3 separate regions of the Homo sapiens genome follow, and regions 2 and 3 are each linked to region 1. Evidence: promoter capture Hi-C in 16 types of primary human blood cells and fetal thymus (Javierre and others, 2016). All regions are on one chromosome and are shown on one strand. The core of a region is centred on a gene start or on the middle of the fragment in contact, and the rest is flanking DNA. Distances in the headings are between cores, read along the strand shown.

Region 1 (2,700 bases), core at 100-2,599:
GCACTGAGCCGAGATCGTGCCACTGCACTCCAGCCTGGGGGACAGAGTGAGACTCCGTCTCAGAAAAAAAAAAAAAAAAACCTTTAACTTAGAGTGAAGGGAATATCCGATTTACAGACACAAGCCTGGGAAGTCAGGCAGGGCAAATTCTTGTAAGTGAATAATCCCACCTTTCACTGCCATAGACCTATCTCACTCTGCAAAGCAGTTTCAGAATCCCTGACAATATTAGTGTGAAGTGCGCAGGTTGACAAAATCAGCAAAGTGGCTGAGAAAATTCTCAAGGTCACCAGGGCTGCCTCTAGAATACAGCTTGTATGACCCTGAAAACAGTGCTCTTCTGTCTCACCAGCCCCCACCCCCATTACAACCCAGACCCAGCTTTATAGGGTTGCAGATGGAGAGAAGGGCTTTGCCCAAGACCACACAATGAGCGGGAGGGAGGCACACCTGGGCTACAATCCAGGAGTCAGACTTCTGGGAGGGACTCTCACAGACCAATCTTGGCCAAGTTTTGATGGCCTCTCACTACCCCCACCACTGGCAGGGCAGTATTCAGCCTTTAGGCATGAAATATGTTCACCTCGCAGAATCCTGGGGGTCCATTTGAGTCCCAGCTGAAATACCCACCACATTTTTATAAGCTTCCTCGTCGAAGGTGAGCTTCCTCCGGCCAATGAGCGTGACTTTGGAAAACAGGCCCTGCTCCAGGATTTCCTTTAAGAGCACTCTGCCGGTTTCTCCGCTGGCGCCCAAAATAAAGACGGATTTATTCTGCATCCTGAAGTCTTCCCGAAGCTTCGACAGGGCTTCTGTTTCGGCCATGCTGGGGAAATAACATCGACAGATGCCGGTCTTAGGGTGTCAGGGGACTGCCAGTCCTTATCCCGAGGAACAAGGGCTGTTTATCTGTTAGGGAGGAGGATATTGTTCTCCGCAGTCCGGGCTCTGGGGAAAGTGCTGAGTCACGTGCGGGGCGCGGCTCCCCGGCCATCGCCCGCACCTGAGCCAGCAGACCCATCGGAAGGGGCCCGAGCTGGAGGGTGCGCCCAGGTGCCACAAGCTGCTGGCATCACTGGGCATACCCCACGGTATCCCCGGCCCGGCCAGGAGACCTGGCCCAGCTCGGTCCCATACGCGGAGGGGTTACCTGGGGCCAGCCCCCGGCCCCGGGTCCTCACGACGCAGCAGGAGCAGGGCGGCCGCCAGAGCAGCCGCCGCCGCCGCGCTCAGCGCCGCAGGCCCGGCCATCAGAGCATCCCACCTTCCCTGGTCGGACCGGGGGGGTTGGAGGCGACGGAGACAGCGCCTACCCGGCTTGGTCTTCCGGGTGGCCTCGCGGCGACGCTGCCTCGCCCCGCCCACAGGGGCGGGACCTGGAGACGAACTCCTGGCACCCTCACAGGCGCGGGGAAGGTGACCCCGAGAGCACGTGCGCGGAGCCGCGACCCTTCCTAAGTTTGGAATCTGCAAGACCCTCTTCCCGCGTTTTCCCTCACCTGCTGGGCTCAGCTCACCCAGGCGCCAGCTAGTAGACTTGCCAGACTTGATCTTCAATGGTCCCCCCAGCTGGAATGTCAATTGTATATTGGCCATCATCTCAAATTCACCAAGTCAAAAACTTAACCCTGCCTACCCAACCACCCCAAACAGGAATAAAACAAACCTATTCCTAGCCTCTCTTGGGTGTCACTGTCCCTACATAAACATACACACACACACGCACACACACACACACCTCCTTCTACCCTGTCAAGTCAGAAATCAGGATTCCTTTGATTCCTTTCTTTTCTAGCCTTTCCACACTACAGACTTATCAAGTCCTGTTATCCCATCTGCCTTACAAATATTTCTCCCATGTAATTCAAGCTCGCATCATATCTCCCCAGAATAAATGGTCTACCTGCCCAGGTCCTGGCCTAATTCATCACCTAGATGGTTGAACCCGGGTGACCTTCCACACCTGTGATTCAGTCTTCCTAGCCCAGATCAGTGGTTTGGGACACAGGTATCTACACTGGGCCTGTCCTGGATCTTGGAAGTCCTGAACAGAGGTTAGAATGACAAGCAGAAATCTGAATAATTTCAGATTGTTCAGGTTTTGTTGGGAACATTGGTCATTTGGGGGCCCCACCTCCCATCTAGAAGCCAATGAAACACATTGCCTCTTCCATCTCCATGGGAGTTATTATATGTAGGCTTTGCCTAGGCTCAGCAAGCCAGAGGCTCACGCATAGGTTTTCAGTTTTGGAGGAGTAATGAAAAGATGCAGTGAAGGCCTGAGATATATGTGGGTTGGTTGGGGCAAGGGTATAGGATTATGGCATCATATGATCCACCAGCCATCTGATGGTCTGATCTTGTCTTAAATTCCTGCCTGTTTTCAGAGACTGTTGTGAATACAGTACTTCCTGTTATTCTTCTGATAAATTCCTGTGCTGTATAAGCTTACCAGATATATTCTGTTGTTTGCAATAAAAAAGCTTGATTAATATAGAGCAGTGTGGTTCATTCCCCACTGGCCTGTCACAGTGCCTGGACTCTTCCCTTTGAGTTCCTAAAGGTTTTCTACAAGAATGCAATGTTAAACCTTGTCAGCAAACACTGTCCTAGTAATTCATTTATCAAATCTGTCACAGAAATTATTCATTGTACCCTGTCTATTCTTCCCCTTTGTTTAAAATTGTGGCATAATTAATA
Region 2 (2,823 bases), core at 324-2,823, about 76 Mb before region 1:
TTAAATACTCTCGAACTTGCGGCACAAAAATTTTATCAAACCATTGTCGGAAAATGGAAAGATCCATCCATGCACCTTTTTGGCTGAAATAAGAGACTGGCAGGTTTAAGGTGTCAGTTGATTTAAAGGAGCGAGGTTTCTTTGCTTTCCCCACAACACAAAGTTTAAGTTTGTGTAAACCTGTTGCATTGGCACAACACATGATTGTGACTCTTTCTTCAATTGATTTGTGCCCAGGGACAGTGCATTTACCTTTGATTACTGAAATCCTAGAAGGCAAGCACTTCCAAAAGAGTCCAGTTTCATCTGCATTGTAGATTTGTTCAGGCTGTAAATTCTCTCGTTCAATAAAATCTCGAAAGTTATTACAAAAATCTTCCACCGCAGTCTCATCTCCATTTAATCTTTCATTTCTAATGTTAATCTCTCTAATGCTGTGCCGCTGCTTAAAACGAGTTAGCCAACCGGCAGAGGGGTTAAAATCACCATCCATTCCCAAAGCATAAAAGAAGAACTCTGCCCTTTTTGCACAAATTGGTCCAGATATGGGATTCCCTTTTGCTCTTTGCTGGTTGAACCATTCCAGCATTGCCCTGTCCAATTCCTCATACATGGATGGCTTCATAGATTTCCTCTTGGCCAAAAGACTTGTGGAATCAGAACTGCTTGCATAAGTTATAATCTTTTCCTTATTTTTTCTTATATCCCGAACTGTTGTTTCACCAATTCCATAAATCACTGCCAGTTGTTTGGAAGAACCTCCGTCTTCAAGTTTCTTTATTATATCAAGCTTATCTTTAATAGTCAACACCACACGCTTCCGTTTCCCTGACATAGCGAGGTTCTGGGACTCACCCCACACTCACAATGTAGCAATCCACAAAATCCTTCCTTCTCTTACACAGGCTCACTTCAACAGTCTTAACACACTCAGTCTTTCATCCTTACCAGCAACCTGGTGGCCCTGATCCCCTCCCGGGCTGGGGTTGGCTGGCAAATAGACTGCAGAAGAAGGTGAAAGAGGAGGAAGTTTGAGAGAACAGGCCTTTCTTTAACTTATACGGGCAGTAGCGGAGGCCCCATGTCACCGCGGATAATCCGGATTAAAAGCATGTGTTTTATTACCCCAGCAGCCGTGAGAAAGACTATACCCCCATTGTGGCCACGAACCTCCTGCACGTCCAGATCCCGGGTAACCGCGCGTCACTAACCCCTGCCACACCCCAAAGTTACGACAGAGAGCCGAAGAGCCTAGGAGTCAAGGACTGGCACCCTTCCTCAGGGGAACGGATATATTAGATTCCTTCCCCAGCAGCAGGGCCCTCCCGCCGCGCAGCCCCAGTTTCCCGCGCCAGCTTTAGCCGGGACAGTCCTCCCAGTCCCTCAAAACCCGCCAGGCCCCTCTCCCCACCTCTCTTGCAACCAGGACCCGCACAGCTCCCTGACTATCGCGCGGCAGTCGCTCCGCCCCTAGCCACGCTCCCGGAAGATGATCCCTCCCGCCGCCTGGCCCCACCCCTCGCCCCACCCAGAGGCGGGACTTCCCTTGGTCCCCGGAAGGGGGGGAGGAGCATCGCTTGTCCTGAGCTGGTTGCCGGGGCAGGGGCGGAGGCGGAGGCAGAGGTGGAGGCGCTTTGAAAGGTGAGAGCGCGAGGGCGGTGCGGGGCTGTCTCCCGGCTGGGACTCGCTCGCGCTCCCGGTGCTAATGGTTTATGAGAGGGGCGGGGGAAGCCGTGCCTCCTCGCGGACTAAGAGAAAAATTCCCGCGGGCGCTCTTTGGGTGGGCCGGAGAACGCCCCTCAGCCCTTTGCGCCTCTAACCCTCCTCAGCTGAGCTGCAGTGGGCGCGGTGCCCGTTATTTCCGCCTTGGGGAGGTGCTTGGAACTGATGTAGGGAGCTCGGTTGGTGATTTCTCGGGTTTCTGGCCTTTCCAGACCCTTGTAATTGTTTTCTCGGTGCAGAGCTCTTTTGGGGTCTGGGGGTTTCCGTCGTCCTGCGCGCGTCATCGCGAAGCTTGGCCTGAGGGTCCGGTTTCCTAGCTACTGTGCCCCTCCCTCCTGGAGGCAGAGTGACGGACTAGTGGGCTAGCGGGCGCTGGGTTCCTGCGTCCCGCCAAAGAGGTTTGTAATCATGAAAGTCACCCTTCCGGGTGTTAATTCCTGAGAGGATCTATTCCACTGTCTACCACTCATTCCTGCTGCATTAACCTTCATTGTTAACGGATTTTAATGAATAATATAGTTATCCCGGATACCATGCTGGCAGGATCCACTTTGCGAAATTGTGGACTGTTGGACTGTGATTCTAAGTGGGGGAAATAGGCTTTCCTCTCTTTATGTTTATTTTCTTATATCCTATTTCTGTCATGTTCTGTCTTGTTTTCCTGCCAATAGAAGAACTATGATAAATTTATTCATAGCAGTGTGATAAGAACTTGATCTTAATCATACACTGTAGCCCTCAAATCGTGTATTATGCTGGCTTGTTTTTGGTGTCCCTAGTAATTTCATCAGATTGTGAGCTCCTTGGGAGCAGAGACCATGTTTATTTGAAATGGTGGCAGCACAGTTCCTAGCAGGTGCTTGCATTTTGGTAGATATTCAATAATTATTTTTCGGCTTATTAATCTTTGCTCTCCAAACTGCCATATAAAAGAAAACATCGAAGAGGAGTGATGTTTTACACCCAAGAATGGATCCCTCCTGGTAGAATTTCAAATAATGACCTGGGGTTCCACTGCCTTTCAAATCTGTAAAGTGTTAACTACCACCTGCATTGTTTATACAGCAAGTAGGTGATTTCTAGAATGAATCTTTTCTTGAG
Region 3 (2,814 bases), core at 315-2,814, about 100 Mb before region 1:
GGCCCCCTGAAATTTTGGGGAGAAAAATGAGTAGAAGTTCCCCTTTAGAACAGACATGATCTAAGGGCCAAGCTTTAGAAGTAACTATTCAGCATTTATTTTGAGCTGACAGAGCTATATCCGTTAATAAGGGTGGATACCCAGACTAGATATGCTAAAGCTATAAGGAGTTCTATTAGATGCTTGATCAAACTCCCTTTGGCTGGAACTGATCAGAAATTTTTAAATCAGGAAAAGGAGATATGTTTATCCATGTTCCAAGACTTTAATATTTTGAGTTAATGTGTGTGAATACGATAGTCAATACTTCTTAACATAGAAAAAGTTTGATGGTGTCAAATTTTAGGCATGTTGACACTACTGATATTATACAGATGTAATTTGAGCAATTACAAAGAGGTGTCAACAACTTAAATACCAAAATATCTTTATACCAAATCTTACCAAGTCTTGTGGGGTGTTTCCTGCATTCATCCCTTCTCATTCCACTCCTTTTTTTTTTCCAGAGATGGGGTCTCACTCTATTGCCCAGGCTAGAGTGCAGTAGTATGATCATAGTTCACTGCAGCCTACAATTCGTGGGCTCAAGCACTTCAATCATCCTTTTTCAAGGCTGTTCTTCTCTATTTCTTACCACTAACAAAGTTTCGATGCTATACTCCATGCTTAAATTATTATAATTATATTCTAATTTATCCCCAGGATCCAATCACTCCCTATCCTTCAAAACCTTTGAAGCAATTCATCTAAAGAAAACACTGGTTGATCATGACATTCACCTGTAAATATTAAACAAAGTCAATCCCTTCTCCAAAATTTCCTAAGGTACTCTACCATCCCTATTTTCCATAATCCTGTCAGCAACCATTCTCCTACTAAGCTTTCCACTCCAATCGATCTAATCTACCCTTAGAATCCTGAACCTTGCTTACTTCTTACTCTCCTCATTCTCCTTAATAGGAGAATCATTCCCTTCCCTTCTCCGATCAAATTCTTCATTACACTTTCCTGGGTCACATCAACCCAACGTCATAGCTTCTTGATTGAGCATTATATTCTTAGAACTTAGATAGAGATACCACCTAGACTCTTAAAATCCTTTTTGGAAATAGGCAGGGTAGGAATAAATCAATGAATATACATACATATGTGCAAACATAAATAAAATGAATATAGTATATTGCATTACTTTAACATTTAAACACATCTCATTTCTCTTCTGAGATCAAGTACACTGAGGGAACATATCTCATCCTTTTTTCATCCATGTTCAGCACCTTGTCTACACATACAGAAGACATTTTGTGCCTTTCATAAATACTTCATGAGTGTCTATATTGATTAGGCAGTATTTAAGATAAAAGTGGGAATGTGATGATAAATGACATTTGTTCTCTACGCTCAAGGAGCTCACACTGCATCAGGAAAAGATATATAAACAATCTACTATAACACAATGTGGTAAGTGCCAAGTTAAATTTGAACAAATAGCTAAGGGGCACAGTTTGGTGAAAGACTATCAGAAACCATGGAATTTCTAGTTAGACTTTCTCAGATTATCAGAGTTCATCTCTTTCTCCTTTATTCTATTACTCCATTTTGCCTGAATCCTCATTACAAAATTTATCATAAACCTTAAGCAACCAATTAATGTTACTTGAAGTATGCCAACTATCATCCATACTAAGTTGCAGTGTCTGGAAGATGTAGATAGTGCTTATGTCTTGGGCATAACAAGCAATCAAGAGTCTGAAGTAAACTGATATACAGATATATATCTATATAACCTGTTCCATGTAGATTATGCTCTATATATTATAGTAGGTGAGTAATAAATATTTGATTATGCCAACTAAAGCTGCAGTCAAGTTTTGGCAAATACTTGTTCTATAATCCTAATGCAAGAGCATAAACTATTTATGGCAGAATAGAAACAGCATCCTCGGACTGTTCATCTTTAAGCACCCAGGATTAGAGAAGGCTAATAAAAAGGGTGGTGGGGAACCCCACCATATTTGGATCAAACTGACACTCACATATGCTGGGATTTCCGAACTACCTGGTGAGGCAGGTTCCACCCATGCCCCAACTGGTACTATAGCCTCGTTCCTCTCAGCCAGCACTGCCAACACGTCCTTGCTCTTCAGGGGGTTTAAAGCCAGGGGCAACCTTGAGGTATTTCGAGGTTTCTTTCGGGCCATACTTCCCAGCATCTGTGACTCCTGATTAGGAGAAAGAAAAAGCTTAAAATCTTCAAATGACTGCATTAAAAGTTCAACCTCCTAACACATGAGCCACAGGCCCGTGAAAAGGAGAGAAGCCCTGGAGGCAGAAGCCTGGCATGAAGTGGAAACACACGGATTCTAGAGAAAAAGGAAGAAAAGAAGGGAAGAGAAATGGGAAGAAATAAAGAGGCAAAGAAAGGTTTTTAAGTTGCCTTCTAGAAGAAATGGCGATGAGAGGGAAGAGAAAGGATGGGAATGAGAGAACGAAGACTGTCCTCAGCTGTGGGCGCAGCGAGGCGGGAAGGGAGGAATGACAGCTGCAACCCGGAGAAAGAGGGAGGGGCGGGGACCTGTGTCTGCAGCCGAGAGTCCCAATAATCGGTATAGGTTATGGGAAGACGCGCTGAACGGCTGGGAGCCTCGGGCCAGATAAAAGCCTGCTTCTGAGGCCCCGAGGCCTGCTCCGGCTGAGATGGCACTGGCCAGGAATCGGCCCGCAGCTCGCCACAGACTCAGTCTACTCGGAGTACTAAGGTAACCGCCTCAAGTAGACCGCCACTTTGCGGTGGGCTGCTCCGTCCCGCCCATC

What was found. The method cuts DNA at HindIII sites, captures the fragments that hold promoters and counts their contacts. A CHiCAGO score of 5 or more calls a contact.
Region 2: a contact is called between the fragment with the promoter of CCDC82 here and the fragment with the promoter of HTATIP2 in region 1, in 1 of 17 cell types (total CD4 T cells). The highest score is 5.1, in total CD4 T cells.
Region 3: a fragment that was not itself captured here is called in contact with the fragment with the promoter of HTATIP2 in region 1 in 1 of 17 cell types (total B cells); the score reaches 8.7 in total B cells.

What each region holds. Positions count from the first base shown.
Region 1 is chr11:20,362,363-20,365,062 of GRCh38, reverse strand. It overlaps HTATIP2 (HIV-1 Tat interactive protein 2), which reads right to left and starts at 1,349. Exons shown (of 5, transcript NM_001098522.2): 1 at 631-1,349. The coding sequence starts at 825. RefSeq lists silencers at 1,000-1,142, 929-1,348. The HindIII fragment of the contact is 1,649 bases long and covers 801-2,449 here.
Region 2 is chr11:96,388,662-96,391,484 of GRCh38, reverse strand. CCDC82 (coiled-coil domain containing 82) reads left to right here and starts at 1,573. Exons shown (of 10, transcript NM_024725.4): 1 at 1,573-1,641. JRKL (JRK like) reads right to left here and starts at 1,472. Exons shown (of 2, transcript NM_001261833.2): 1 at 1,412-1,472; 2 at 1-1,002. The coding sequence starts at 835. RefSeq lists a silencer at 1,400-1,659. The HindIII fragment of the contact is 1,223 bases long and covers 793-2,015 here.
Region 3 is chr11:124,954,132-124,956,945 of GRCh38, reverse strand. CCDC15 (coiled-coil domain containing 15) reads right to left here and starts at 2,744. Exons shown (of 16, transcript NM_025004.3): 1 at 2,576-2,744; 2 at 2,037-2,222. The coding sequence starts at 2,213. RefSeq lists an enhancer at 2,541-2,814. The HindIII fragment of the contact is 1,363 bases long and covers 883-2,245 here.